Regions from separate parts of the Homo sapiens genome. Here all the other regions are linked to region 1. The links are contacts of gene promoters, found by promoter capture Hi-C in blood cells and fetal thymus (Javierre and others, 2016). All regions are on one chromosome and are shown on one strand. The core of a region is centred on a gene start or on the middle of the fragment in contact, and the rest is flanking DNA. Distances in the headings are between cores, read along the strand shown. Region 1 holds the start of XYLB (xylulokinase). Region 2 overlaps DLEC1 (DLEC1 cilia and flagella associated protein). Region 3 overlaps ACVR2B (activin A receptor type 2B).

Region 1 (4,463 bases), core at 635-3,134:
ACCCCCATCACACACACATGCACATCAAGTACATACCCAAATTCTGGAAGATCTCTGTCAAAATGCACACTTTCCTCATAGAAGACATTCAACTCTGCATCAACAGCAACAACCTTTACCTGAAAGGCATTTTAAAAAAGGAAGTGTAGAATTTTCCTCAGCTTCTACACTGGTCCAGGGGGTACTAACGTCACCAGATGAGGCCCCACACCCTAGGAGCAGTTCAACCTAGAGACCTCCTTGAAGGCAGGGCTGCCTCACCGTAATCGTGGTAACAGAGGACTCATCTGGGGTAACACTCAAAGATTTAGTAAAATGAAGAAACTGAGGCTAAGTAGGAACACCCACATGTCTCAAGGAATCTTTGTTCCCCAAATAGCCAAAGCCAAGACCCTCTAGAGGAAGATGTTCACAGATGAGTTGGTTCGTGCACCTGACAAGGAGGCGGGAGAAAGTGCCAGAGAGGAAGGAATGGGAAGCAAGGTTTGGAGGCATCTCTGGGGATCCATGTCTGCAGAGGCCTGAGACCAGGCAAGGCCATGGGCTATTCTCACAGGCCATGATTGTGGTCCAGAGACATTAATGTCCCACTGAAGCAATCTCCAAGCTTGGGAGTATAACTCCTTTCCTGGACAGATGGGAAAACTGAGGTCCAGCAAGGCAACTCGAGTCATCCAGAGTCCCACAGGACGTTCCCCCAAGGACTGGCCAGAGGCCTGCCTCCCTTGACCCATTCGAGAAGAGGGGTTTGACTGCAACTGTGTATATTTCCCAAGTACTTTAAAGGAAAAGGTGCCCCCGGTCACCCCATGCCCTCTTTGAAGGCAAATTTTGATTTGCTTGCCTGTCTGCAGGGCGTTGGCAGCAGCACACTGCTCCTCTGGCCAGCAGTCCTGGGTGCACAGACCAGGCAAGCTGGTGTCAACGAAGGGCGGTCACAGGGTAAAGTCCACTTGTACACTATGCATTTCACTTTTTTCTTTTTTTTTTTTTGAGACAGGGTCCCGTTCTGTCGCCCAGGCTGGAGACCGGTGACGCCATCTTAGCTCACTGCAATCTCCACCTCCTGGGCTCAAGCGATCCGCTTCAGCCTCCAGAAAAACTGGGACTACAGGTGTGCTCCACCATGCCCGGCTAATTTTTGTATTTTCTGGTAGAGACCGGGGTTTCTCCATATTGCCCAGGCTGGTCTCGAACTCCTGGGCTCAAGCGATCCACTCGCCTCGGCCTCCCAAAGTGCTGGGATTACCGGCAAGAGCCACCAGGCCTGGGCCATTTCAATTTTTAAAAAAAGGTTTTGGGCTATAATCTGCTTCCAGGTCACTGGTTGTGCATGTGCGCAGGGCTACCCGCCTGTCTGTTCCCCTGCCTTACAGTAGCTGACTTCCTTCGGATCCCCGTCACTGGGTGCCCAGAACAGCGCAGGAACCCGCCGAGTCCTCCGGCCCCTCTGGGCACCGGGGGTCCTGCCGAGGAGCGCCTGCAGTTTCCTGGGGTAGCTGGGTCCAGGCGGGGTCGAGGCCGCATCTTGCGAGCGGGTGGCATTGGCAGGGCATCTCCGGGCGAGGGCACCGGCGCCCCACGGCCGCGCGCAGGGCAGGGGCGCGGGGGCCCCGGGAAGCCCGAGAGGTAGGCGCGCCCGCGGCCGGGCCCATGTTTTCCCGCGTCCGGGTGACAGCCCGCCCCCTACCCCCACCGAAGCGGAGGAGGCGGCCCCGTGGCCCTGCGGCCAGGCGACTGTACCTGCTGCGTGCTGAAGTCCCAGCCCAGGCAGCAGCGGCGAGGGGCGTGCTCCGCCATGGCCTTTCGGGTAAGGCTGCGCGTCCGTCAGTCCGTCCGTCCGCCACGCGGCGTGATAGTCGCCGCGCTCCAGCGCCCAGAGACGCAGGGGCCCGCCCCTAGCTCCGCCCGGCCGGACTGTGGACCGGAGTCACGAGGCGGGCTTGCGCTCTGGCGCCGCCTGCGGGGCTACGCGAGCCGGGACCGCGTCCTGTGCAATCGACGGTGCCCCCACGCAGCCCGCTTTCCTTCGAAGCGCACCCCCTCTGGTTCTCCCCATCTTCATCTTATGTCTTCATGGGCCGTGCCCTGACACCGCCTGGCTTCCCTTAGAGGACGCCTGGGCCAGAGGTTTCAGCTATAAGCCGGCTTGTCTTTCAGAGGGAGCCTGCCTGTCCTTCTGGAGGCCCTGGGCCTGCCGTCCTCTGTGGCTGTATCTTGGCACTGGAGCAGCTGTCCACCCATGGTGGTGACTCAGGGGCCACAGGGAAATGGGCCCTGGGGTTGGAAGCACTGAGTCCTGACAAGCCCTATCCAGATCCAGCAAATCTGAATGGTTCCCAGTGTGTCACATCCCACCTGTGTATTTAAACTCAGCGGCTCCTGATGCCCCCACGGGGAGACACTCCTTCCTGGAGTCAATTGGTATTGATGGTCTAATGTGTGCCAGGCATGGTAAAGGGGAATGAGAACCAGAGTCAGACCCACTCCTTTTATTCATGGAGCTGAGGGCGCCTGTCCCACCAGCTACATCCTTCCCGTCCCTAAGACTAACTGCTTTCCAGAATTCCTCCCCAAACCCAGCATGTGAGAGGCTCCTCCTACGAACTTCCCAGCCCACCAGTGCCCTTTTCATGCACTTGCAATGGTCTGTCTCCCTTGCTGAACTTGAGCTGCTTGGAGTCTACATGGGATCCTCTTCACTGCTAGAACAAGAAGGGGCCAACATACTTGTCCTCCAAGACATTCACAGCTTATTGGGGACTCAGCCCCTCCAGCAGTCACCACCTGTGACAATAGACAAATACTGGATACTAGCTAGATCAGAAACAATTATGCAACCTGCTGAGCACATTTAATCGTCACAATGATGCTGGGAAGTAGGTACTATTATCTCCACTTTTAAAAAATTTTAAATAAAGGTATCTAAGTATCTAATCTAATTAAGATTAGATTACTGCATTTTAATCTAATCTTAACTGCTTGATGACTTTTTTTTTTTTTTTTGACAGAGTTTCACTCCTGTCACCCAGGCTGGAGTGCAGTGGCGTGATCTCCGGTCACTGCAACCTCCACCTCCCTGGTTCAACTGATTCTTCTGCCTCAGCCTCCCATGTAGCTGGGATTACAGGCGCACACCACCGCACCCAGCTAATTTTTTTTTTTTTTTGAAACGGAGTTTCACTCTTGTTGCCCAGGCTGGAGTGCAATGGCGTGATTTCAGCTCATTGAAACCTCTGCCTTCTGGGTTCAAGTGATTCTCCTGCCTCAGCCTCCCGAGTAGCTGAGATTACAGGCATCCGCCACCACGCCCAGCTAATTTTGTATTTTTAGTAGAGACGAGGTTTCTCCATGTTTGTTAGGCTGGTCTTGAACTCCCGACCTCAGGTGTTCCGCCTGCCTCATCCTCTCAAAGTGCTGGGATTACAAGCGTGAGCCACTGCGTATGGCTCTAATTTTGTATTTTTAGTAGAGATGGGGTTTCACCATGTTGGTCAGGCTGGTCTCAAACTCCGACCTCATGTGATCCACCTGCCTCAGCCTCCCAAAGTGCTGGGATTACAGGCGTGAGTCACCGTGCCTGGCCAATGACTTTTTAAAAATGTATGTATATACCCATATAAACACTGAGATCAAAACAGAACATTTCCACCACTCCAGAAGTTTCCTTCATGACCCTTCCTAAACTCCCAAGGCAATCACTATTCTGATGTCTACCAGTATAAACTCACTTTGAACTTCGTATAACTTACCATCTTCATTTTACAGAGTGAGAAACTGAGGTGTAGAGAAGTTAGTTAACGTGGCCTAATGAAACTGCCATTGCAAAATTATAACTGAGACAGTGAAAGAGATCTGACTTAACCAATTCCATCTTGCTTCTAGCCTCCAAGCTGTCATTGCTTATTCATGGGCATAGGCAGAACTAACTTTGGGAGGAACTTACTTTATAGTTTAAAACAAAGATGATAACAGCTCTTTCCCAAAACAAATCTCCTTCTTGCCTGTGACTAGACTGCCTTTGTAGGACTAACAAATTAGCCACAAGATTAGAAATTAAGGTTTAGGAGTCATGCAGCTGGAGACTACAAGATTCTGACCATCACCAAATTGCTCCTGGGGATAACATCACTATTGTAAAACCTAAGATCAGTGCTTGAGATATTTTAGAGACCCTGCACTTGATGGATCAGCTGGTACCACCCAGCTCCATAAACTGGCTCATCTGATCTTGTGGCCCCCACCCAGGAACTGACTCAGCACAAGAAGATAGCTTCAAATTCCTATGAGTTCATTTCCGACCCAACCAATCAGCACTCCCAACTCACTGGCCTCCACCCACCCACCAAATTATTCTTAAAAACTCTGATTCCCAAATGCTCTGGGAGACTGATTTGAGTAATAATAAAACTCTGGTCTCCTACACAGCTGGCTCTGTGTGAATTACTCATTCTCTATTGCAG
Region 2 (4,463 bases), core at 981-3,480, 240 kb after region 1:
AATACATTATTTTTCTCGAGTGCACAAGGAATATTCTCCAGAATAGCCCATAAAACAAGTCTCAATAAGTTTTAAACGACTATAATTATATAAAGTGGGTTCTCCAACAACAATAGAATCAAATTAGAAATCAACAACAGAAAGAAATTTGTGAAACAAAATATGTGCAAATTAAATAACACATTCATAAACAAGTCAAATAAGAAACCACAAGAAAAATTAGAAAATACTTTTATATCAATGAAAATGAAAACATGATATATGAAAAGTTATAGGATGCAACTAAGGGAGTGGTTAGAGGAAAATTTATATTTGTAAATACAATTTTCTTTAAACAAACAAAAAAGAAAGATTGCAAATCAAAAACCTCAGCTTTTACCTTAAGAAACTAGAAAGAGAAGAGCAAACTAAACCCAAAGCAAGTGGAAGGACAGAAATAATAAAGACTAGAAAGCAGAGATAAATGAAATAGAAAATAGAAAAACATTACAGAAAATCAACAAAAGCAAAAGCTGGTTCTTTGAAAATATCACCAACATTGATAAACCTTTAGCTAGACTAGACTGACCAAGAAAAATTTGCTGAAGATTCAAATTAGAGAAATCAGGAATGAAAGTGGGGACATCACTACTGATCATACAGAAATAAAAATAATTATCAGAGAATACCACTAACAACTATGTACCAACAAATTACATCACAGATAAAATGGACAAATTCCTAAATTCCTAGAGTGATGCAAACTACCAAAACTGAGAAAAAAAAAAAAATCTTTTTTTGGGGGGATGGGGTGGGGCATACAGAGTCTTGCTCTGTTGCCCAGGCTGGAGTGCAGTGGCACAATCTCGGCTCACTGCAGCCTCTGCCTCCCACGTTCAAGCTATTCTCATGCCTCAGCCTCCCGAGTAGCTGGGATTACAGGTGTGCACCACCACACCCGGCTAATTTTTGTATTTTTAGTAGAAATGGGGTTTCACCATGTTGGCTAGCCTGGTCTCGTACTCCTGACCTTAGGTGATCCGTCCACCTCAGCCTCCCAAAGTGCTGGGATTACAGTCATGAGCCACTGTGCCTGGCCAAGAAAAAAGTCTAAATTGACCTATATAAGAAATTCAGTTACAAACATACCTCATGTTATTATGCTCTGCTTTATTGTACTTCACAGATACTGTGATTTTTACAAATCGAAGGTTTGTGACAACGCTGCATTGAGCAAGCCTATCAATGTCATTTTTCCAATTGCATGTCCTCATTTCATGTCTCTGTGTCATGTCTTGCAAACTTTTTTGCTATAGCTGTTATGGTAACCTGTGATTAGTGATCTTTGATGTTACTACTGTAATTGTTTTGGGGTGCCATAAACAGCAATCATATACGATAATGGGCTCAACTGGTAAATGCTGTGTGCATTTTGACTGCTCTACTTACTGGTCATTTCCGTCTCTCTCCCTCTCCTCAGGCCTCCCTATTCCTTGAGACACAACAATATTGAAATTAGACCAACTGATAACCCTACAATAGCCTCTAAGTCTTCAAGTGAAAAGAAGAGTCGTACGTATCTCACTTTAAATCAAAATGATTAAGCTAAAAAATGATTAAGCTTAGTGAGGAAGGCACATTCAAAGCTGACACAGGCAGAAAGCTAGCTTTGTGCCAAACAGACAAATTGTGAATGCAAAGAAATGTAATATCTAGCAAATGCCCTATTTGTGAAAATTTTGAAGTAAAAGATAATAAAGCAAATAAAATGTTATGCAAACAAGGAAAAGAAAATAGGAGAAAGAAATAATGTGATCAGGTTAACTGATAAAACAGAGGAGAACAAAACTGCTGCTTGAAATCCCTGCACAGGTTACGTGCAATGCAATCCTTAATGATGGAATGAGGGCATCAAAGGGCGGGGGAGCTGAGCAAAGCACTGCTGAAGATCCATTGGCTTAGCCAGGTCAGGGCTCCAGCCCCAGAGCTCAGAGCAACACATGGAAGAGTGGGCTGCCCCAGGCACAGAAGTCAAATATCACATGATCTCACTCAAGTGGGTGCTAAAAACGTGTACATATGGACATAGAGATTGGAATGATAGACAACGGAGACTCGGAAGGGTGAGGGCATAGGAGGGAAATGGGTGATGAGAAATTAGTTCATGAGTACAATGTATGCTATTTGGGTGATGGATACCCTAAAGCCCTGACTTGACCACTATATAATCTACGCACATAACACAATTGCACATGTACCCCATAAATTTGTACAAATAATAAAAATTAAAATTGAAAATTAAGAAAAAGACTGGGCTGCCACAGTATTTGCCCCCACTGAAGACTGTGGGTATCACGCTGGAGAGAGGCCAGGGCAGAGCCTGCAGTAACACTGGACCTCTCAACTGTCATGAGGAGGAAACAACCAGAAAGATGCTATTCCTTCATTCTTATTTATGAATGAAGGCACGAATTGATTTGTGTAGCTGCCCAGTATGGGTTTTCTCCACTGTTTGTTTAGGGCTGTTTTCCCCAAAGGTCCCTTTCTCTGATGGATTCAGGCTAGCTGTGTGCTCTGAGGGTGGTGACTCACATGTACTTCATCCCTTAGAATAGGGGTGCTCTCCACATCTACCCCCTTTTACTCAGAAGAAACTTACAACACCAGCTCCTTATGCAAATCAACTTCCTCCTCCATTCAAAAACAGGACTGGACAGGCAAAGATTACTAGAAGCAGAAGAAAACTCAAAAAGTAAAGAAGAACTCCAACATCTGGGAAAACAGAAATTCATTTTCTTGGGGGAATCTGAGAGGCTGTTGCATTGATAAGACTATAACAGATTACTATAGAAAAGGAAAGACGCAAGAACAACAAAGCTTGAAATTTCGAAACATGATTGCCTCTTCTGGAGACAGATCCTCCCTGTCACCCAGCAGGGGAAGGGGCGGGTACATGACCCACACAAGAGCAAGAGCAATCAGGGCCTATCTCTGCAAAGAGCCAGATTGGCTCTCAGAGATTGTTAAGGTGGGAGTGTGTGAGCCTGGAGCTCTAAGTGGCCTCTCCCCAAGGCAGAGTGCGAAGGGCCCTTGTCAATAGGGGAGAGAAGGGCCCACAAAAAAAGAGCAGTAGATGGGTTGGGGCTGGGATGGAGGTAGAGAAGGGGGAAAGAGGGTAGAGAAAGAGAGGAAGCAGAAGACCAGACAAAGGGAAAAGTGTTGGGCCCTTGGATTCAGCAAGGTGGGAATGCCCAGTTACGTGAGCCAATGCTTCCTCTTTTTTGCCTAAGTTGGTAATGTCTGTGTTTCCATCACCTGCTACTGTAAACATTCTGATAATACAAGGTCCTTTCAGGAGAAAGAACAGAGACAGAAAAGGAAAGGAAATAAGCACAGACTTAATAGAAAGCCCTTCCCCTGAGCTGCAGGCAGACTTAGCCTTCACATCTAATGCCCGCAAATTGCCCTGAAGGACCAATGCAAAGACTCATACCTAGACCTGTATTTGTTATCACAGGAGGGGACATTTGAACAACTGTCAGATGGTCAAGTATACAAAGTCCAACAACATTTGTCATGGTGAAAGTGTGGGGTAATGGCTAGTCTCACACACTGTAGGCAGAAGTATAAAATGACACAGTCTTTTTGGAGGATAATTCAAGAGCATCCACAGAGATTTAAATGAGCATTTAAATGTTTTTACAATGAAACACCAAATATATGCAAAAATGAGTATAAAACATATATACAGTTTAAACATATATATAGTTTAACGAATAATAAAACAACATCTATGTACTACCTCCACACAACTTTAGAAACAAAATATTATCACCAGCCAGCTTAAGAAAATGAATATATATATATATTCATTCACTGCAACCTCTGCCTCCAGGATTCAAGTGATTCTTCTGCCTCAGCCTCCTAAGTAGCTGGGACTACAGGCGAGCACCACCATACCTGGCTAATTTTTGTATTTTTAGTAAAGACGGGGTTTCACCATGTTGCCAGGCTGATCTCGAACTCCTGACCTCGTGATTTGCCTGCCTCGGCCTCCCAAAGTGCTGGGATTACAGGCGTGAGCCACCATGCCCAGCAGGAAAATGAATATTTTATTTGAAAATAATTTGGGAAGGAGTGGGGAGAAGGAGATAGGGGATATGGATGAAACAGTACTTGCAGTGAGTTGACAATTATTGAAGGGAGGAAAGAGTATGTGGAGGTTTATTATACTATTCTTTCTGTTTTTATATATATGAGAAGTTTTCCACTAGAAAGAAAGAAAAGGAGGGAAGTGGGGGAGCGGAGGGAGAATGAAGAAGAAAAAAAGGAATACTACCAATACCTTTGAAACCTCTAGCATGTTCCTCCCAGAATACAATGGTATGTGCTTATTTAAATATGTCACACTTTTTAAATGTCCATTCTCCTGTTGACAGACAGTGGTTTTTTCTAGTTTTTCCTGTAGGAACAGTCCAGTCTGA
Region 3 (4,463 bases), core at 1,213-3,712, 140 kb before region 1:
CCAGAAATTAGGGCTGGGAAAAAGGAAAAAGGTAGAGGTTGGGGACTAGAAAAGACAAGTAGAAAAAAGCTTACAGCAGTTGCTTTTGGGGCGAAGAGAGTGATAAAAACAAAGGCACAACAGAATTACATTCCAAGACACGTGGCTGGAGAGCAGAGAAAATGTTCTTTTTATGGGGAACAGATGGGGTTGGTTTCTGGAGTGCTACTAGATCTGCTGGAACTAAATTTATTCCAAGTATAAAAAGGGTAAAGTGTAAACCTATACGCTCAACCAGAATGAATAAAAAGCACAGCTGGTTTAAAATGACACATTAGGGATTCTCTTGATAAAACTATCCCGTCCAGTGCACCTCTGTCTAGAAGCAGCAGCCTGAAGCCAGCGGGCAGGGTCTGGGGGACAGGTCTTCAGCTGGGCCTCAGGACTGGCCATTATGCATACCAGAAATTAACTTAATTATTCATTATATATCGCCACCAAAAGTCCCACACAAATAACCATCCACTCTCTGCCTAAAAATAAATAGGCTAAAATGAAGACCACTTTCCGTATTGTGGCAGTGATGCTGAGCTTCCTCAGAAAAGCAGGAAAACTCTGGAGCTATCTGAAAGATGCTCTGCTGTTACTGGGGTTCTGAGCTTCCTCACTGGGCTCCTGGCTGATTCCACAGATTGAAGCAGCGAGCCAACCCAACCATTCTCACTGACCAGAGAGGACAAAATGTGCCTGGCAGCTCTCCATTTAATTGGATCACTGCATCCACATGCCACCCTCCCCACTTTTCTGAACAATTACTTAACTGGGTAATTCTGCCCCCCAACCTGGATAATGTGATCTTAGATAATTCAGTCTGGTGGATTACTCAAACCACCAGATTCTCATTTCAAAGTTTTTGTACCTGAATCTTATTCGAGTCCCATCCCACCCCAATAGGCACCCCTATACAATTTCTGTTCCCCCAAACACTCTCACATGACTATGTCCTATGGCAAAGGCTTACAAACTAATTTTTGACCTCAGAACCCTTTGTTCAACAGAAATCTCAGGAGGAAGCACCAATGTAAAACACATTGCAGGCCCTCTCTCCTCCCAATCCACAAGAAGCTGAGCTGAATATCACTGTCCTACACAACCACAAGTGGAGTTTTGGCCAAAAAAGACCCGCAAATTGACTCCAGTCTGCCAGTGTATCACAAGAATCCATATAAACACTAAGTAAAAGTTCCACACCACTCATGCTCCAGTGTACGTTTCTCTTGAAAGGTAAAGCTCATTAGCTCTGATTACAAAATCATTCAAATTCACTAACTTTATAAAAATAATCTGTGGTATAAAACAATCTCCACACTGTGTAGAAGAAATCTGTCAAGTGATATAACTAAATATATATGTAGAACTATCGATTTTTTTAAAGTAAAGTTTCAAGTGTTGTGTATCTATTATACAACCTATTCTTTTATTTACAATGCTAACATTCTGACGCAAACATGATTAGGAGAGTCAGGGAATGAGCCCACACTCAACCAACAGAGAAGTTCCCAGGACTCAAGACAGAACTCATGCATTTGCAAGAAGACCCATCCTCACCTGCCTGAAAAACTTGTGGGTCATATTTTTCATAACTGTGAGCTCAAAAATGTAAACTTTGCAAGTGAATGTAATACTCTTCTGTAGATGTCCAGCATAGCCCAGGTTTATATAACCCCTTCCATACACACAAAGAGTGGTGTGTACATTGCTTTAGTGCCCTGTGGTTGGTTTACAGTAGTTCTCAGAATTACCTAGGCCCTAGACAATCCAAAGACACTGCCCTAGAGAAATGAAGGCAGTGCAGGGCCCATCACCACACATTGGCATTTAGAGAATATGTGTTTCAATTACTGAGGAAAAATCACTTCGGTTACCTCTATGAGCTGCCATAGGAGCAAATAAAGTATCACTGGTTTTGGCACTACAGGGGATACAGGAAGTACCACAATCAAAAAGTCATGTTTCATTCATACCTGGAAAATACCATCATGAAAATGTAAAAACTTGGTAATAATTTAAATAATGGTAAATTCTTTAAATTCAAATTCTTTTTTGAACCAAAGTTTACAGTGGACCCAAAATAAACATAAAACATTCAAAATGTCCCACTAGATAATTTGGACTTTTCTTTGTTGGCAGGCCTTTTGGAGCCACCAATTGTTTTAAAAAATGTTACTGGGTCAACCGAATTAATTTTCAAGGGGGTGTTTTTCCTACAAAACTAAATCATTATTTCAAAAATCTTTTCCAATCTTCTAAAGGTTTGGGATACATTCATAGGTAGACTGCTGGTTGCAAATCAACTATCTGGAATCTTACTTAAAGAACTATGCTTATAACCCTGAATTCATTAAACATTTACAAATCTAGACTGAGAAGATATACAGTTCATCAACTGAATTACTGGGCCTGTTTATCTAAAACATTACTGTCAATTGAGATTTAAACTCATCATTACTAGATTGAACATGTTAGCTGCTAAGTATTTCATTAGTTTAGAATTTGCAAACAGCCATTAACTAAAAGAATTCATGTCACCCCAGTGAGAAGGAGAAAAAGACACCTTGTCCCCTTCTCTTTTTGGCTGTTCGCCCAGGATGAAGGGTAGATGACTAGATTCACGGAGCTTCTTAAAAAGGTATGGTCTGATGCCCCTGAAATGGGAATCAGGCGTGGCCATCTCTCCAAAGGTGTGCCATCAAAAACTCAACAGGCTAAAATAACTGAGACTGAAAATTAAACTGAGTTAACTCCTGGAAACTGCTTTCCAATTAGTATATTTTTCTAGTGAAATAAAGTTCTCGAGAATAACTAGCTGTCCAACTTCTAGTACCAATTCTAAAAACTTACATACTTATGCTTACTGTATTATTTTAAAAACCAGCAAATCTTTGTGTTACCAATAGATGCTGGAAACTTTATACTGCATACTAAAAAAGGCAAAATTCTAGTTTCAAGAGGGCCATCCAATACTCCCACTTTAATGGAACAGCCACCTCCCCACCCTCACGGCTCAGAGCACAGGGGCCAAGTGACAGGCTTTCTGAGCCACACACAACACATGAAGGACATTCAATACACAGCTGGGCTTCCTTCCACCAGGGAAAAACCCCACACACAGCCCGAGCACACAAAGCATAGCAGGATGGAGGAAACGAGAATGTGGCCAACTGAAGAGAAAGGTGACAGAGCCCAACTACAGGATGAAGTGCTTTGCTGTCTAAGTTATGTCAAGAGGGTTAGCCTAGCCTCTTAGGGCAATGGAAGAACTATCTCTGTGGCCTGGAGATGAGAGACCCTTCCCTTTGCTAAGAATATGTGAGCAAGAGTCTCTATCCTCCTGAAGATGTTCAAGGCTGAAAAACAACCTCCTTTTTCTGCAGAAACACCCCCAAGTCCGGACATGATGTATTCAGAGTCAGAATCAGCTGGCACGTGTGGGTATGCCCTCCCCAGGCAGGACTGGTCCCACAGGCTCCTCTCCAGAGCAGACAGGACAAGAAGGCCATGCTGGACAACAAAGGCTAATAATGCTCACCATCTTCCCTCACTGCCAGGTGTCACTTTCTCCTAAGCACAGCCCACTTGCAGCCCTTGCCCCTGAGCAACTCATGCAAAGAACTCCTGCTGAGGACCAATGGTCCCAGGAGAAAACCCAGCTTATGCCAGGCCAGGATGTTCTGATGACTATGTCTACAGCCTTCCCCAATGCCCCATCATTGAGGGCCCTCTGCGTGACACTGTAATACAATGGCCTCTGTCCTCACTTGCTTCCTCCTTCTGCTCATTACTGGATTTCTCCAACTAGGGATGACTTCTCAGTTATCATAGATGCTTTCAAAGAAGATTCTTCCCCAAGGCCCATCCCTACAGCCAGGAGCCTGCTTGGATGACAGCACACTAGAAAGGAAGAAGCAAGGATCCTTGGCTACTCTCTGCTAACTTGGTCCCCTCCCACCCTGCATGGAACAGCCCCTCCCATTGACAGGGAAAATGATGCCAGGCCCCATTTTCCCCAGTCTGCCACAGAGCCTGAGGTCAAAAACAAAAAGAAACCAATTATCTGAGCCCACCAAAAGTGCATGTCACATGAAGTCATTATGGAAAAGAGCACAGGCAGAGGCTCTATGACCCAGTAAATTCAAAGCAGGGCTCGAGATGGCTCACTCCTCAAAGAACACATGACAGCAAACAGACAAGCATTTACCCGGGGCAAAAGGCCCATCTGTGCTCCTAGACCCATGCCCTATAAGGAGATCCCCCACCTTCTTCTTGCCATCAGAACCAGATATACCACCTGATGGGTGCACTTTACACCACAGCATGAGGGGAAGAGTGGCCTGAAGCCCAAAGAACTGGCATGGACCACACTCCTCCCCAGCCACACCAAAAAGGTACCATCTCCTGACACACAATCTGATGGCAAGGCCCCA

Evidence for each region. Contacts are between HindIII fragments. The CHiCAGO score rates a contact against its expected background, and 5 or more counts as called.
Region 2: a fragment that was not itself captured here is called in contact with the fragment with the promoter of XYLB in region 1 in 2 of 17 cell types (neutrophils and megakaryocytes); the score reaches 7.2 in neutrophils.
Region 3: a fragment that was not itself captured here is called in contact with the fragment with the promoter of XYLB in region 1 in 2 of 17 cell types (total CD4 T cells and total CD8 T cells); the score reaches 6.8 in total CD4 T cells.

What each region holds. Positions count from the first base shown.
Region 1 is chr3:38,344,206-38,348,668 of GRCh38, reverse strand. XYLB (xylulokinase) reads right to left here and starts at 1,884. Exons shown (of 19, transcript NM_005108.4): 1 at 1,744-1,884; 2 at 37-119. The coding sequence starts at 1,800. RefSeq lists enhancers at 444-1,275, 1,276-2,107 and silencers at 1,408-1,467, 1,478-1,717. The HindIII fragment of the contact is 4,748 bases long and covers 610-4,463 here.
Region 2 is chr3:38,100,790-38,105,252 of GRCh38, reverse strand. The region is part of intron 19 of DLEC1 (DLEC1 cilia and flagella associated protein); the gene reads right to left. It overlaps LOC105377033 (a long non-coding RNA gene), which reads left to right. Exons shown (of 2, transcript XR_940727.3): 2 at 1,460-1,763. Among named protein-coding and RNA genes, the nearest start is that of ACAA1, 34 kb to the left of the region's middle. The HindIII fragment of the contact is 1,256 bases long and covers 1,603-2,858 here.
Region 3 is chr3:38,486,189-38,490,651 of GRCh38, reverse strand. It overlaps ACVR2B (activin A receptor type 2B), which reads right to left. Exons shown (of 11, transcript NM_001106.4): 11 at 1-4,463. Among named protein-coding and RNA genes, the nearest start is that of EXOG, 7.9 kb to the left of the region's middle. The HindIII fragment of the contact is 4,781 bases long and covers 72-4,463 here.